Regions from separate parts of the Homo sapiens genome. Here all the other regions are linked to region 1. Evidence: promoter capture Hi-C in human tissues and cell types (Jung and others, 2019). All regions are on one chromosome and are shown on one strand. The core of a region is centred on a gene start or on the middle of the fragment in contact, and the rest is flanking DNA. Distances in the headings are between cores, read along the strand shown. Region 1 holds the start of CXCR6 (C-X-C motif chemokine receptor 6). Region 2 overlaps LARS2 (leucyl-tRNA synthetase 2, mitochondrial). Region 3 has its middle 52 kb from the start of CCR3. Region 4 has its middle 26 kb from the start of CCR3. Region 5 holds the start of CCR1 (C-C motif chemokine receptor 1).

Evidence for each region. Contacts are between HindIII fragments. The study calls those that stand out against the background at their distance.
Region 2: a fragment that was not itself captured here is called in contact with the fragment with the promoter of CXCR6 in region 1 in 1 of the 25 tissues and cell types used here (lymphoblastoid cells).
Region 3: a fragment that was not itself captured here is called in contact with the fragment with the promoter of CXCR6 in region 1 in 2 of the 25 tissues and cell types used here (IMR-90 fibroblasts and lymphoblastoid cells).
Region 4: a contact is called between a fragment that was not itself captured here and the fragment with the promoter of CXCR6 in region 1, in 1 of the 25 tissues and cell types used here (adrenal gland).
Region 5: a contact is called between the fragment with the promoter of CCR1 here and the fragment with the promoter of CXCR6 in region 1, in 6 of the 25 tissues and cell types used here (IMR-90 fibroblasts, bladder, mesenchymal stem cells and 3 more).

Annotation. Positions count from the first base shown.
Region 1 is chr3:45,941,648-45,944,958 of GRCh38, reverse strand. It overlaps CXCR6 (C-X-C motif chemokine receptor 6), which reads right to left and starts at 1,495. Exons shown (of 2, transcript NM_006564.2): 1 at 1,419-1,495. All of the region lies in intron 14 of FYCO1 (FYVE and coiled-coil domain autophagy adaptor 1), which reads left to right. The HindIII fragment of the contact is 14,146 bases long and covers 1-3,311 here.
Region 2 is chr3:45,496,099-45,499,409 of GRCh38, reverse strand. It overlaps LARS2 (leucyl-tRNA synthetase 2, mitochondrial), which reads right to left. Exons shown (of 22, transcript NM_015340.4): 14 at 3,037-3,135. The region is part of intron 2 of LARS2-AS1 (LARS2 antisense RNA 1); the gene reads left to right. Among named protein-coding and RNA genes, the nearest start is that of LARS2-AS1, 12 kb to the left of the region's middle. The HindIII fragment of the contact is 5,058 bases long and covers 1-3,311 here.
Region 3 is chr3:46,293,215-46,296,525 of GRCh38, reverse strand. No RefSeq gene overlaps it. Among named protein-coding and RNA genes, the nearest start is that of CCR3, 52 kb to the right of the region's middle. The HindIII fragment of the contact is 4,646 bases long and covers 1-3,311 here.
Region 4 is chr3:46,267,241-46,270,551 of GRCh38, reverse strand. No RefSeq gene overlaps it. Among named protein-coding and RNA genes, the nearest start is that of CCR3, 26 kb to the right of the region's middle. The HindIII fragment of the contact is 5,988 bases long and covers 1-3,311 here.
Region 5 is chr3:46,206,593-46,209,903 of GRCh38, reverse strand. CCR1 (C-C motif chemokine receptor 1) reads left to right here and starts at 1,591. Exons shown (of 2, transcript NM_001295.3): 1 at 1,591-1,622. The HindIII fragment of the contact is 6,364 bases long and covers 1-3,311 here.

The DNA of each region.
Region 1 (3,311 bases), core at 246-2,745:
CTGCCCCCCACAAGCTCTCTGGGGCACTGTATTAAGTAGGTCAGATGATGTGTATGTGTTATTGATTCACATGGGCAAAAACATATTTTTTCATCATTTAAAATATGAAACAGGTGGCTTTGCTCTTAAGAATAATGTTCAGCTCCCCATTATTGCTTGACTCGCTCTCGCCTTTTTTTGGTATCTTCCTGTTCCAGCTTTTGCTGGTCCCTTATGCTGCCATTACACATTTCCTCAAAGGACCTGTGCAAATTCATGTGTAATAATTGGTAAACTTTGATGTATAATAATTGGTAAACAGATTGGGCCTGGACAGTGCTGTGCAAATAGAGTATGAAAAATTACTTTCCCTTCTAGGCGAACTAAAAACATTCATTTCTTTATCCTCTATAATTAAAATCCTATTTTGTTTTCTGAAAATTAAAAAAAAAATCTACAACTTTGGAAGTAGTGTAAAAGTCTGATAATGATGAAGCAAATTACAATTCATACATAAAATAGAATATACTTAAATGTTTAGGAAGTATTTTTACTGATTTTGGAAAATGCAATACAGTTAAATTGCTAAGAACAGTGTAAACACAAAGTAAATATGCAAAATAAGTATTAACTATTACTATTACAACAAATAGATGTCAAAAGGATATAAAATTGTGATTCTTAACCTTTTTTGACCATAAACTCCTTTGAGAATCTCCTAAAAACTGCAGACCTTTTCTCAGAAATAATGTATATATATATACACACACACACACACACACAGACACACACGCACACACACAAACACCCCTACAATTCTGGGAGTCCATGAACCCCTTGAATCCTTCTGCCATGTATTCTGTGGGCCCTCACATAAGAGTTCATGATAAACTATGTGATTTTAACTGACCGTACTTTTAGAAACCTGGAAAAAATGATCACATTTTATTAACAGTTGGCCTCCAGCTGGTGGAATTATGGGTGACTTATTTCTTCCTTTTTTTAAAATAGTTTTCAAAGTTTCTACAGTAGTATGTTGATTTATATTGAAAAAAGAACATAAATGATAATCTGATAAAACAGCCTGTCTTATGCAAAAGAAATGAAAACAGAGATTATTCATTGAGCAAATATAGACAATAACTAGATTCTCCTTATCTCCCTGGGTGGGTCTGACTATGCCATTACTAGCAGTACCATCAGCCTGCAAGCACTAACTGTGTGCCTGGAAACATGTTCAGTAGTTTTCATGTTTCTCCAGTTTAACCCACACAGCAGCAAATGGCAGTGATGGAATTTGAACGAAGAGCAGCTGAGCTCCATAGCCTGGCATTTTGCACTGTACCCTACTACAGACAGGAATCTGAGAATACCAACAATACCTGGGGTTAGTCCTCCCTGTCTTCTTTTCAATATAAAGAGTAAAACAAATGACTCACCAGCAGAGATGCTTTGCCAGTTTGTTCCAGAGATGAGCTTGCTCATGAAGCAAGGTCTGCCTCTACTTCTGTGATGTGGTTCATGTTTCCGCTGAACATTTTTTAAGAGCCCTCAGCTGGTTACTATAAGAGACCCACCCCCTACTCCCGTCCTTCAGATCAGAATCCATATGACCAACCCGCCCCTGTGTAACGCGTGGGTCAGAGATGGATGGGTGACTGATACCCCACACTCCCTTCATTCTGCTTTGGGGCTGATTCTTCTGTCAGGGCCTGACGAGCTTTATTCGTAAACTAAAGGGGAACAATAAGGAGGTTTGGCTCTGGCCATCCACCGAAGATGGTGGCATTTGTACCTTAAAATTACTTAATTCACTAGTCAGACATCTTTTTGGAACAGTTAGGGTCTGGGCCAATGCTGAGTCCATGGTATGGGCTGGGTTCTGCGTGCATATGCAGCTCCAGCATATGTGATAGCTGTTAAGCCCCATAGCAGCCCTGCAGTGGATATTATCCTGCCTTTATAGATGAGAACACTGAGGACCATAGCCAAAATAACAAGCCCTGGTGCACACAGCTAGAAACTGGAAAATCGAAGATACACACTCAGGTATCTGTCATTACCAGACCAATCAACAGCATGATGATGGGTCTGCCAGAGGGCCTGGTGCAGCCCCACCTCCTAAGCCCACACCACTCAGGCACTCAGCAGGCAGTGCCCACCCACCCTGCGTAGGCTGGCTGGAATCATCTGGTTTCCTTGGGCTGCCCTCTGTACTCCTGGAATTCCCCAGATGTTGACTACTTTGATCTCAGTACAGTTCTAGTTGTCAGTCTCCATGATCTAACATTACTGACCCTTCTGGGAAATAACGCTGGAAGGCAGGAATTGGAGGCATGTCAGCCTGGGTCACATGCCCCAGTGCCTTGTAGTGGAGAGGGTACTAGGGAGAGGCATGGACTCGATGTCTGCTTTCCCAGAAGCAGCTGCCTTCTTGTGGAGGTGCCTGGCCTGCCTTCTCTGGCTCTGCACTCCCATTCAGGCTGCTTCTCTCCAATGCTGTTGCTCTCTCCCACCTGCTAGGCAAACCTTCTCATGTGGCTCTTCCTAAGGGCAAATGTCAAGCATTGGGAGCAGGGACCAGGAGCAGCCTCAGGATCCAGAGACTAACACTCATTTCTACCGCAAGCCTGGCCCTATGCTGGATGCTTCTATGTACAGCCATCTAATCCTAGTCACGTACAGATAGGCAAACAGAAGATTAGAGAGATTAGCCCACTTGCCCAAGAACACACATCCCTGGCAGTCACCCAGGACTGTCAGGCTGCAAAGCCAGTGCTTCCTGCCCTGCTCTGAGTATGGAGCTGTGCCAGGGGGCCCTGATAAAAGATCTGAAGACCTCTAGTAGGTTTGCAGGCCTTTTTGAATGAATTCGTTCAGACTGTCCTTTCTACCAAACTGGTACAAATGAGTGAGGTGTTCCTTATGGGCATGAACCATGAGGCCGCATAGACTACATACCGATGGACAGATGGATGTAGGGAATGGTGGACAAATGAATAAAGGAACAGACTGAGCCAAATATGCACCTGTCTTCCTGAAAGAGAACTTTCAAGGCAGGGTGGCAATTTAATGTAACCCTGCCTGACATTTAGGAATCTTTAAGCTTTGAGAGCTGAGTTTTACCCAGGGACAACCAACCATGCCATTCAAGACAGGTCCATAGGGCAGTGTTAGAATGGCCTGAGCCTTGTCAAGCACCCTTGGCCATGCTTTTCTCAGCAAGCCTTTCTACTCCATGGGGAAAAACAAGCCAGCACCTGGGGCCCTCCATGACTGTGTGTACATGTCAATATGGGGATATGTGTATTTGAGAAAGCATGGCTTGTTTA
Region 2 (3,311 bases), core at 243-2,742, 450 kb after region 1:
GTTGCAGGGGCGTGATCTCGGCTCACTGCAACCTCCGCCTCCAGGGTTCAAGCTATTCTTGTGCCTCAGCCTCCTGAGTAGCTGGGATTACAGATGCCTGACACCACACCAGGCTAATTTTTATATTTTTAGTAGAGATGGGGTTTTGCCATGTTGGTCAGGCTGATCTTGAACTTCTGACCTCAGGTGATCTGCCTAACTCGGCCTCCCAAAGTGCTGGGACTACAGGTGTGAGCCACTGCACCTGGCCATCAGTTAATTTTTTTAAAACATTTTTTATGGAGACGAGGTCTTGCTACGTTCAGTCCAGCTGGTCTTGAACTCCTGGCCTCAAGTCATCTTCCTGCCTCGGCCTCCCCAAGTTATGGGATTACACATGTGAGCCACTGTGCCCCAGCTGTAAATGTTTATTTTAAAATAGAAATTTGATTTTATTTTTTAAAGCAGTCTGAAAATATACTCAGCTAGAGACTGTATATTGCTTACTGAATGCGATGCAACATATTTAAGGTGACTTGTCATATAATAGCCCAATAACTCTCACCTAACAGATACTAATAGAAAGGCTTTCTCATACTCTTGGGTCCTAAAGGACACTGGAGAGGAAAGGAAATGTCATTTCCATTTTCTGGCTGGGACCTTCGGTGGGAGGGGCAGCACTGGCTGGCGACAGACCTCTGTGTTGCCAAGGTAATGCCGTCCCTTGAGGTCAGCCAATCAAGCAAACCTTTGCCTTTGGAGGACTTCGAATATTTGTGAATTGGTTCCCTGACACCTCAAGCCACCTTTTTCCCCAGGATAGACTTGGCTGGCTTCAGCTTTGAGGCTAGAAAAAAGAGCCTGGCTACCACCACATATTTGCATCTTAATATAGTTTGGTGTTCTCCAGTCACTGTACCAGAATTCTGATAAAATTTTTAAAAAACACTTTTTTTCTTCGTGAAAAACAGTTCCCTAAAGAAATTCAACTGCCAATCCAGGCGACAGAAAAGAAAGGAAAGTGAAGGATGGTATTTGGCCGGAAAACAAGTTTGGGATATATTAAGGAGTGAAATGTTGAAAGTAGCTACAGCTCAGATTTATGATCCACTCAGGAAACCACCCCAGGAAGAACTCGTGCTGGGGCTGAAGCTAACTACAGTGTGTCATGAGGGAAATGAAGTGCTCACTGCTGTTCACAAACTGGGGGCTGTGACGGTCTCAGGATGTCTCTCCCGCCACGGTAACTTGAGGTCTCTCTCATCTGTGTGAAGGCTTTCCTTTGAAGCACTCTGAGAAAGGAAAGAGCCTGACCTCACTTGCATTCTAAGCCAGTTGTTACTACATGAAATGCACCAATGGCCCCTTATAGAGGGAAGGCCCTGAAGGGGAGCCCCTCTGTGGGCCAGAGAAGGCCATGCTGGTGGTTCCCAGCCACAGTCGTCACCTTGCACCCTTCCTGCCTTTGCAGGGTGTCTTTCACTCAGGATCCCCCTCATTTCTTTTTTTTCTTTTTTTTTTTTTGAGAGGAAGTCTCACTTTGTTGCCCAGGCTGGAGTGCAGTGGCACGAGCTCAGCTCACTGCAACCTCTGCCTCCCGGGTTCAAGCGATTCTCCTGTCTCAGACTCCTGAGTAGCTGGGATTACAGGTGCGTGCCACCGTGTCCAGCTAATTTTTGTATTTTTGGTAGAGTTGGGGTTTTGCCATGTTAGTCAGGCTGGTCTCCAACTCCTGACCTCAGGTGATCAGCCTGCCTCGGCCTCCCAAAGCGCTGGAATTACAGGCGTGAGCCACCATGCCTGACAAGGATCCCCCTTATATCTGATATGAACTCAAATTACAGAATCACAACACTGCAGGTTGAAATTCTGGCAGGGTGAGGGCAGGAGTATCTGTCTCACTAGAAAGATATTATTTTAGAACCACGAAGAATAGGGAGGCATATTTTATATGTAGGCAACAGGGTTCCAGAATGTTTCTGCCATGGACAAGAGCAATTAGGCAAGGCCCTTTTAAGCACAATGCTGTGTTTTTTCCTGGGCTCTGGAAGAGTTTCTTTCGGTTCTCATTCTCTCTCTTTATAAGGCTACCTACTGCTCTCTTTTCCTTAATTTGTTTCTTTTTTTGGGGGGGGCGGGGTTCAAATAAACACATGAATACAGCTTAAAAATCAAAATGGTACTGAAAGATTTACAATGAAAAACAGTGGTCTCCAGCCCCAATTCTTTCCTTGCCTCAGGCCTGTCTCTTAGCCACTTTTAATTCTTTTGGTTGTTTCTCCCAGCAATTATTGAAAAAAAAAAACATGTTTATACTCTTTATTGATTTATCAATTTAGGAAATGATCTACTATGTAGTAAGAGGTGAGGCTTCTTAGCGGTCTCACCCTCCCTACCTGCTACCTTCTCTGTAGAGTTACATTATTCTTTTCAGTTAAATAAATAACATTACATCTTTACAATCATACAAATGCAGTTCACTGCAAGGAGGGTATCACAGTAGCATTTCCTTCTTTTTCCGTTTTGTATTTGTGTTGTACTTGGGATTTACTTGGCTGTGAATAATCTAACTTAATGATGTAGCACTCTCCCTTTAAGAGAGCCTGTTCCGAGGTGCACAGTTGACTGACAGCTTCCAGCTGCTGCATCTGTGGACCCACTCTGGTGTGTTCCTGCCAGCCCATGTTGCTCTCCCAGGCTGCTCCCAGGAGAGTAGAGGGAGGGGCTGGAGCAGAGCCATTTTAGCCTGACTGTAAGACTCTAATGGACAAGCTTTGCTTGGGCCTTCCCACTGGCCAGGTCGAGGCTTTCTCAGAGTTGTGCTGTGGGCTGAGGCTCCTCCACCTGATCCTCCTTCCTTTCCCTTCTCCTTTCACACCTGTCACAGCTCCATCGTGGTCTAAGAGCACTCTCTGCCCACTCCTCCTCTTCTCCCCTTTAATCTGCACAGGCATTTCCCCCCAAGAAATCTCTTGCATGTCTAATTCCATCTTGGTCTTTGCTTCTAGGAGGAGCCACACTGACAAATGCTCAAAGACATCAGCAGGGACGTTTTACCTGTGTGGATTATGAGGGTCAGTGTATCTGAAGTAGTACCAAGCAGAATCAACAAAGGTATCCATCGTGTCTGTCTCTCTCTTGGCTGCTCCCTTGCACCTAAGAAAGAAATGAAATTCATCAATTGGTTTCTTTTTAAATTTTAATGCAGTTTTCCATCAGCTTTTGAGAGAGCTATAAGTATGAATTTAAAATGTCATAAGAATAAAGCCACAGGCTGGGTGTGGTGGCTCACGCTTGTAATCCCAGCACTTTGGGAGGCTGAGGTGGGTGGA
Region 3 (3,311 bases), core at 237-2,736, 350 kb before region 1:
CCTCTCAGTTTTCATTTGAAAAAAGATGCAATGTGACATACAAATAAGAGATATGCCATGAAAAACACTGAAAATAAATAGATGAGAAATGGAAGAAAACAAGTGGACACCAGATCCAGGCCACCAGGGGTGTGCTCCAAGGTTCAGAATTGCTGTATGCCCTACAACAACGTGGCTGTCAGCTGTCCAGCAACCAGAGCAAAGAGCAGAACACATCTATGTTCTGATTCTTTTTTATGTTGTTTGTTTGTTTGTTTTGAGGTGGAGTCTCGCTTTGTTACCAGGCTAGAGTGCAGTGGTGTGATCTCAGATCACTGCAACCTTTGCCTGCCAGGTTCAAGTGATTCTCCTGCCTCAGCCTCCCAAGTAGCTGGGACTATAGGCATGCGCCACAACTCCCAGCTAATTTTTGTATTTTTAGTAGAGGCCGGGTTTCCCCATGTTGGCTAGGATGGTCTTCATCTCTTGACCTCGTGATCTGTCTGCCTTGTCCTCCCAAAGTGCAGGCGTGAGCTCCGTGCCCGGCCATATGTTCTGATTTTTTAGACTCAGAAGATCAGGCAAGGTAGTTCCCCAGTAGATTCACAGTCATTCTTGGTACAGGATTCAAGGAGAAAAATGTCTCAGAGAAAATGGGTTTTCTTTGAGAAGACACAGAAGCGATGAAGCCTGTCCTGAAGTCTTTTACATCTTGAAAAAAGTGCTTAAATAAGCTTAGAGTCCCACACTGGTGTATCAAAGGCTCTGCAAGTCTCACATCTTCCAGAGCTTCTGGAGCACAGAAGACCATCTTTGACTTCTTCTTCCTCTTGTCCTGTTTTTCTGTAGCAGTCATTAATTAGTGTGTCCTGGAGAACAGGATGGCAACTACCAGTGCAATGTAATGAACGTCCTTTTGAAGATCCATGGAGTAAAGACAGCTTCGAAGGGCAATTTTATTTTATTTTTTATTTATTTTTTGAGACGGAGTCTCTGTTGCCCAGGCTGGAGTGCAGGGGTGCCATTTTGGCTCACTGCAACCTCCGCCTCCTGGGTTCAAGTGATTCTCCTGCCTCAGCCTCCCGAGTAGCTGGGATTACAGGCACCTGCCACCACACCTGGCTAGTTTTTGTATTTCTAGTGGAGATGGGGTTTCACCATGTTAACCAGGCTGATCTCGAACTCCTGACCTCAGGTGATCCACCCACCTCGGCCTCCCAGAGTGCTGGGATTATAGGAGTGAGCCACTGACCCTGCCTCAAAGGGCAATTTTAAAATAGAGCACTCCTCACTGGGAGTCGGTGGTGACAAGCTGAGGCACAGTCCAGTAAGCAGTGTTTCGAGTGGGGAGAGAAAGCCGGGGAGTGTCTGGCTCGGGTAGGCATTCAATCTCTCTTTCTGCACTCAGAGAGCAGTTCCTTGCTAAGGGACGAAGGCCATTCTTAGCACATGAGCTATTCCTTTCTTTCCTGATTACAGGAGTTGAAATTTCCTTTTCATGGGTTTCCTGAAAGCAAAAGTAACATCCCTGGACACCTTGCTGGAGAGGCAGTGTATTACTTGTAACCAAACACATATTCCCCCAGTAGGAAGGTCACATGAGTAAAGGAAAGAAAGGCCCTGTGTGTTGGCCCAGTCTCCACTTGTCCATGAAGCTTTCTGTAGCAGCCCCAATTTCAGCCCCTTCTCTGTTGTTTGCACATTGCCTCAGCCTCCACTTCAGGCAGTCTCTTCTGTCTGCCTTATTGCCTATATAAGCATTTCTAAAACTTTAACCTGCCTACAAATCATCTGGGAGTCTTGCTAAAAATGCAGATTCTGATCAGTAGCTCTGGGGTGGGGCTTGAGATTCAGCCTTTCTGAAAAGCTCCCAGAGGGTATGGATGCTGTTAGTCCATGAACTTCACTGTGAATAAGGAAGCCCTACATCAAACCATGGCACTGCTGTTCATTGCCTTCCAATTGTTTCACATCCTCTGTGCATGCCATAATGCTTAATTCAATACTGTGTCCATGGACGCTGGTTCTAAGTGTTTGGTGGGCACCATGGAAGCTATCAGAAAATCACAAAAACTAACCTGATTCTTCAGTTTCAGGAATTGGAGCTAGGATCATGGACAATTAAAGAGAAGAAAACCTCTGCCCCTCTCGCAGCCCCAGGATGTCTCAGTTTCAATTCCTGTGTTGAAATCCCCTTCTCCTCACCTGTTCTTTCACCTTTTTGTCTTGGCTTCTGTAGAAGGATTGAAACTAACAACCTTTGAGTTTAAGTACTTAAAGTAATTTCCTTCTTGCAGGTTTTGAGTTATCTACATGATTCATCTCCCCCTCTGCTTTTTGAGAGTCTACAACTCCCTGCCCCAGCAAGCCCCCAAGCCCACTCACTCCTGGGATGTGTCACAGTTGCTTTGCCAGTTCCCTGGGACTCCCCCTTGCTCTGTGATATCAGCCTTCTTTCTGGAATAGAGAAGACGTGGATGCCTGCCCCATCCACATCTCACTAATCCTTTCTCTGTTGTTTGCACACTGCCTCAACTGGGGATCCTGTGTGCCGTGCTTTCTGCAGAAGAGCCACACAGCCTCAAGGTCATGGAGGCTGTGAACATGGGTGGGACCAAGACGCAGCTCAGAAACAGGTGGGTGCTTATTATTCCATTGCTGCTCGCCTCACCCAAGGTCACTGAGCAACGTCTAAGGTGTCATAACTGACACATATGAATCAATAGGTGACCGGAGGAAGTAGGGACTACCCTGGGCCAGGGGCAGGGCAAATGGCTGGATGGCCAAATTGCATCTGAAGGAGTAGCTGTCACATGAAGAATCCTACACAGGGGCCGATGGTGTGTCCTGACCCAGGTTTCTGGTTCCATCTCGTAACAGCTTAATCCACTGGGTGGGGCCTGGCAGAAAAAGTACAGACACCATCTAAATCTGTGTACAAAATCCAGGTGATCTGTCCTTTTGGGCCACAATGCAGAGTGTGAGTCTAAAGAAAGCTGAGGACATCCAAGATGAGGGGAGAGGGCCTTCCACAGCTAGGCAGGATTTCAGGGCCCCCTACTGGGCCAGAGATTTAAGGATGCCAGAGTTTCTTTTCCCTCCACAACAAAGATAGCCTGACAATGTATAAAACTAAAATTTTATGGCATGTTGTTGTAGGGGGTAGAGGGGTTTGAAAGAAAGTGCATATGCTTTCCTCCTTCATATTATTATTTTTTAAAGTGTGCTGAAAGCAGTGTTGCAATCTGATTGTTTAATCTAGCACAATTTGCTTTGCTAGAAGTAACCTTTTTGAGGGAAACCTGCTATCTGTGGTATGAAATCTAGTTCCT
Region 4 (3,311 bases), core at 496-2,995, 330 kb before region 1:
CCTCACTTCCCTACTGGAGTTTCCTGCACTTTGCAAATAAACTTTTTGCTCTCAAATCCTTGCTCAGGGTCTCTGCCTGGAGGAACCCCATCTAAGCAGAAAGACACCTTCTCTGTGCACCTTTCTTCAATGTCTCCATCCTACTCTCTGCAGCAGTGTCCTTCAGGCACCCCTCATGTTTCATTACAGCCACAGGAATCAGGTGGGTCTCTTCCACTGAACGGTGAGTGAGTGTTCTAGAAATGGATCTCGTTCATTTTGCATCACCAGGATTTTCCCTATTGTGCAGTGTTCAGGGCATGTGTTTGAGGGCTACAGGGTGCTGGATGCATAGGTAGAGGAGGGGTCAAGAGGCAGGTTTGAAGGGGCTGCTGCTGCACCACTACCAATGTGGCCATTTAAATTTAAATCCAAAGTAATTTAAATTGAATAAAATTTAAAAATTCAGTGCCTTAGCCACCTAAGCCACATTTCAAGTGCTCAAGTGCTCAATAGCTGCATGTGGCGATCATATTGGACAGTGCAGATATAGAACATTTCTCTCAGTGTATTTCTATAGTTCTTGAACAGAGCTGGGATGGGGAACAAAGCAGCACACACCAATTCATGATTTGGTTATGTGAAGTTTGAGAGAGTCAAAAAGCTCCTAAAAGCTTTCAAGGGTAAGAGGAGTATGGTATGAACAAGCATCTCTATCCTGCACTTGTGGTTACCTAAGGCAGATGCAACTTCATAATGCAAGAGAGAACCAGTGATGTGTAGTTCAGTTTTTAAATGATTGTTTTATTTACATTTTGGCTGAACCACAAAAAAGAGACGTACTTCAAATTGTCCTAGCCAAATTGAGATTCATGTTGCGTGGTTTAGAGTGTTACAGAGTTCACATCCTGTGTTGGCCATGCAGAGCTCTTAGATAGGCAAGACAGTGACAAAAGGCCAGGCCACTCACCAGAGGGTGAGGATGGATGGAATCATGACCAAGAGAATGCACTCCCTTTCTCCAAGCATTGGATTGGGAAATAAAAAATGTCTTCTGGTCTTCACGTGGAACTTTCATCTGGGTTGAATTCAAGCATTGGTAATTCCTTTATAAGGCATGATCATGAACTCTGGCAGTGGAGAACAAGAGCAGTGTCCAATTCAGTCTGATGGTGAGCCCCCTGCAGGCAGCATCCAAGTTGAGATTGAATTGGACATCCCCAAGGAGCTCACTGTCAGACTGAATTGGACACCTGTGGGTGTGCCCTTGTTTGTTTCCTCAGAACTTAGCTAAGAACATGGTGGATGCTCAGCAAATGTTTGCTGAATGGTAAATGACCAAATGAATGAACAAAACCTGAGTACCCCTTAGTGAACAGTGGGAACCATGCCTGGCCTCACGACCAATGGAGGTAATGCTGTGGGCTTGTCCACCACTCTTCTCCTCCTTTTTTTTTTTTATCATATATTTTGTAAACTTAGAGCCTCCAGCTCCTAACATTTTAGCAAGATTAGAGTCTACTTGGGCCACAGAGGGGCCTTAGAGATGATTTAATCCAACTTTTTTATTATATGGATGAGGAAATTGGGGCCAAAAGAGGCCAAATAATTTGTGCCAGGTCACAGGATTAATTCATGGCAGGAGGCTTCTAATCTCCTTATGGCTGGTAGGACGTATGCCTACTTCTGAACATCTACATAGCAGCCTAGCCTTTTATTTTTTATATCATTCTAAGGTTGTATTTATTTTTTGAATGAGAAGTATGTCCCCATGATTGAAAATCCAGAAGGCACAAAAACTCATGCTTCTTTTCCTCTTCTCCAGCCACCCCATATTGGTACTGGTTTCTTTTGTATCCTTAGAGAGATGGTCTATACACCTAAGTACAGAGTAAAACGTGTGTGTGTGTGTGTGTGTGTGTGTGTGTGTGTGTGTGTGTGTCTGTGTTTAAGCATATGATACACTCTGCTTTGCCCTTTGATTTTATATTTTCATTTTTTAAAATTTTTTACAACGTCTTGCTCTTGTCACTCAGGCTGAAGTGCAGTGGCGCCATCTCGGCTCACTGCAAACTTGCCTCCCGGGTTCAAGTGATTCTCCTGCCTCAGCCTCCTGAGTAGCTGGGATTACAGGTACCTGCCACCACACCCAGCTAATTTTTGTACTTTAGTAAAGATAGGGTTTTGCCATGTTGGCCAGCATGGTCTCTATCTCCTGACCTCGTGATCCGCCTGCCTCGGCCTCCCAAAGTGCTGGGATTACAGGCATGAGCCACCATGCCCAGCCTTGCCCTTTGATTTTTGCACTCAGCCATATATCACTCCTAGTGCTTTAATTCATCCTTCATGCTATCTCTTGGTCAAATTCTCCTGAGTGCTCCTGGAACCTCTCTTACCAGCTGCTGATCTTTCCTTGCCTCCAAACTTGCACTCACCTCCTAACTTCCCTCCTGCATGGTTCTGAGGCCTCCCCTCCATGCTCTATGTGTTACCAGATGTATCTTCCTACATTGTTTTTCTCCCCTGCTCTAAACCCTTCCATAGCTCCCCTTGTGTGAAGTTCATGGCCCACCCTACCCTGCCCATGCCACCCTCCTGTCCACAAATATGCATACCCTCCTCTCTCCCCTTGGGATGGGGCATTCCCTTGGGTTAAAGGTGCCTTCTCCCAAATTCTCTCCCTTTCTAAATCCTGCCTTTCTTTCAGAAAACTGCTCAAAAGCTACTTCCTCCATGAAATCTTCCTCCCCTCACGTTCCCACAAGAAGTCGTTTTTCCCTTCCTGGCCCAGGCATAGCATTGAGTGTCTACCCCTTTGCACCAGAGTTGTTTGTTTCCATCTTATACACCTTCTAGACTGAAGGTTTCATAGGGGCAGGGATTGTGCTTGTCTTACACATTTTTGCATCTTTCACTTAACCTGAAGCAGTGTTTGTGCACCCTGTCCGGATCACCTAACAGACAGCTGTTGGATGGAGAGCTGGCAAGGCTCACATTGCACAGTCATATGATCTCTACTGAGAGGCATAAGTTAATCAGAAGCTTAGAACTTACTTCCCCTAGAAGCCATAACTAGGCAGAACCAAAGGGAATGGAGACCTGAGCCATTCCTACTTTTTTGTGGGGGATACTTTTACATCATAAGTTGCATGTTTTCCTCCTTAGGATGTAGCTCACACAAAGTCATACTCATCTTTGTATCTACTATAGCTTCTAGGGCAGGGTATTAAATATAGGCACTCAAGAAAAGCTCAACTAAATAAAAATGATGGAGTAGAAAGACCCACTAAACTGATTGGTTTACGATGAACTGACATACATACGCTGTCCTG
Region 5 (3,311 bases), core at 342-2,841, 260 kb before region 1:
CTTCCCACCCTCGATGCACCCTTCCTTAGCCCAGGGTATTTCCCAGGCCACTACAAAAGCTGTTCCTCATTGTGGTAACTTGGTTAATTGTTTGTGATCCTTCCTAAGCTATAAGCTCTCAAAGAATGGATCCAGCCTCTTTCTTCACCACTATATCCCAAGCACCTAACACAATGTCCGGCACATTGTGAGTACTGAATAAATATTTGTTCAATGAACAAGCAGATTTGCCTGGTACATCCCCTCTGTGGAATGAAACCTAGAGCAGAGCTGGAAGCCTGGTCAAGGATGAGGTACTGACCATGTCCCTTACTTTAGACAGGATCAAGGAAAAGGCAGGCCTCACAAGCCTCTGTTCTCTTTGGAAACTGATCCACCAGCAAAGTACTGCAAATAGCCAGGCACATGCAGACCCCCATTTATTTCTTTGGGGTGAAGCTGAGTGATGATCAGATGTCAAGCTTAGGCCATCTTGTCTGAATTCTTCATTTTACAGATAAGAAAACTGAACCATGAAGAGACAAGTGATCTTTTCAAAGCACATTCACACTGATGATTTCTGAAACAGTGCTTTGTAGCAATGCCGTGAGGAAGGTTAGGGGTGTCCCCACTTTATAGAAGACACAAGGGCAGAGGCAGAGTAGGTGTTGGCAGTTGTGAGGAGAGTCACAGTACTCATCATTTGTCAGACATTTTTCACTGTGCCAGGCACTCTGACATTTTTCATGTACAAGTTGACTTCGTGCTTCTCCTCTGAGGTAAGCATTCAATACTCCCATTTAGCAGAGTAGGAACCAAGACTTAGAAAGGTGAGTGATCTGCCCATGTCACAGGTGGAGAGCTGGGATTTGAACTTGGCCCATGTTTGACCATCACGTAAAACAGGAATGGGGCATCAGAAAGGGAAGGTCAAAATGTAACCAACAGACCTATATTCCCTTCATGCTGGAGGTTCCTGGGGCAAAGCCACTCTCTGAGGTTTGGTGGGGAGGGACTTGGGGAGCAGAGAGCAGAGGGACAATGAGCTCCCAGAAGCCGAGGGGCATAGGGTGCCAAAGAGAAGCTGCTGCCTCTGTGAGCACCCATGTCAGTTAGTTTTGAGGAACAGGACTCAGGGTTCCAGTTTAAATCCTTCCATTCACAATCTTTAAGAAGAAGAAAAAAAAGAAGTCTGCCGCTGACCACAAGAGCTCTATGCCCTGCCCCCATCCCACATACACACATCCCACACTTCAATTGCTCCAAACATTCTGGGAACATCTCACTGCCACCCACCTCACCCAACTCAGCTTCACCTGCCCCCAATTCCCTTAAGGCTGAGCTCCCAGGGCCAAGACTCAAGAGGCTCAGAGTGAGCAGAGAAAATCCTCGCAGTTAACTTGGCTTCCAGGAAGTGGCCACTGGTGGGCGTTGTGGCCATTCATGAGCACCAAACCACACAAAAAGAAGAACTTTGTCCCTTTCTTGTCATTTTGAAAGACTGTGAAACTGGAGCCAATTCTCCATCATCACACAGGAAGCTGAGTACTTCCTACTTGGTCAGGATCTTGAAACTTGAATTCATAAAAACCCAGAAAGCCCCAGAAACAAAGACTTCACGGACAAAGTCCCTTGGAACCAGAGTAAGTGTCACTTGTCTTTTCTGTCTTATCTGTTACTGTGGAGGGCAGTGTTGTTCAAAGACATGCATGCAGCTAGGGGCTCCTCAAAGGTAGGGGGAATTCTTTGAGTAGGCTGGGCAAATGTCTAAGTAGCCCATGGATGCATCTCCAAGGCAATTAATACTGTAGCAATACTGAGAATGGTGGATTTATAAAGCTGGGTGCTCAGATGAAATATAGGCTTTTTTGCTAAAAAGGAAGCTTACTTGAAGGATTGGCTTTTGGTTACTGATTAAGAAAGTCAGTCAGTACTAAGGGACAAAAGGTGTTTTCTGTGGAAACCTATTCAATAAGAAATTACTTGGCGGGGCGCAGTGGCTCACGGCTGTAATCCCAGCACTTTGGGAGACCGAGGCAGGTGGATCATGAGGTCAAGAGATGGAGACAATCCTGGCCATATGGTGAAACCCTGTCTCTACTAAAAATAAAAATTAGCCGGGCATGGTGGCGCATGCCTGTAGTCCCAGCTACTCAAGAGGCTGAGGCAGGAGAATCACTCGAATCCGGGAGGTGGAGGTTGCAGTGAGCTGAGATTGCACCACTACACTCCAGCCTGGCGACAGAGCAAGAGTCTGTCTGAAAAAAAAAAAAAAATTGCTTGCCAAATTCCCCCATGTAAAGGAAAACCAAACATGGTGTATGAAGAAATTATAGCAAGAGGGAAATATTAGCTAGAAAAATCTTGGCAGATGCAAGGATGATTTGATACTGAACCTATCTCTTAAGAAGACTAGAACCAAGGATCCTCAAAATTGGCACTGCTATCTTTGGAAGAGGTAGGCTTTCACTCACCCAAAGGCAAGGAGCTGGCCAGGTGATCTTGGGGGGCATCTGTTCTGCTCTACTAACAAAGACACAGGTCAGGATTTTGTTCTGAAGATAGAGGGGCATGGTGGCTCCGTATAGGTATCTACTTCATAGGTGGTCTTGGTGGGTCCCAGATTTCAAAGAAGAGATGGAAACTCCCAAAAGTTTGCACAACCTGGCACCAGGCTATGTGCCACTCACTGATCCTTTAGTTCCCGCACCGAGCAGTGGGACAGTGCTGGACTGTTCAGAATGTGGGGCCTGGGCAGTGATGTGCTGGTAAATGTTCAACAACTGACTCTTCTGAAGAAAAGATCCCTGCTTTATAACATTTGTTGATTTTCATGGTATAAATGCCCCCACTGTGGTCAGTTTCAAGCTACCAACATGCTGAATGTGGAGTGGGGAAGAGATGCACGCAATTGGCATTTATAAACCAGTATAAGCCAGCCAGCGCACCATAGGCCTGGGTGTCTTTCACCATCACAGACTGCTCTATCTCTGCTCAGAGACTTCACCAACTCCCAGGCTGGAGGACACTAGCAGTGGAGGGTCCAGGATCCAGGGCTATAGCTGACCACTGTGCAGTGGCCTTGAGGCAGACTTCTGCAGTAGACTACAGCAGGGCTGGCAGATTAGATGACAACATGGTCCTTTGGTTTCTCTTCTCGGGCCCCACCCCAGATCACCTCCCTTTAGGAACAGCATGCCTTGGAGTGGTTGCCTGGGGCTTAACAAGTTGGGGAAATAACAAATGGGTTGGAGGTAGGGGGTGTATGGAGGTGACTCGGTTTAAAATGCCACCTGACAATGTTGACTCAACTTGCCTTTGCCTTTGCCAAA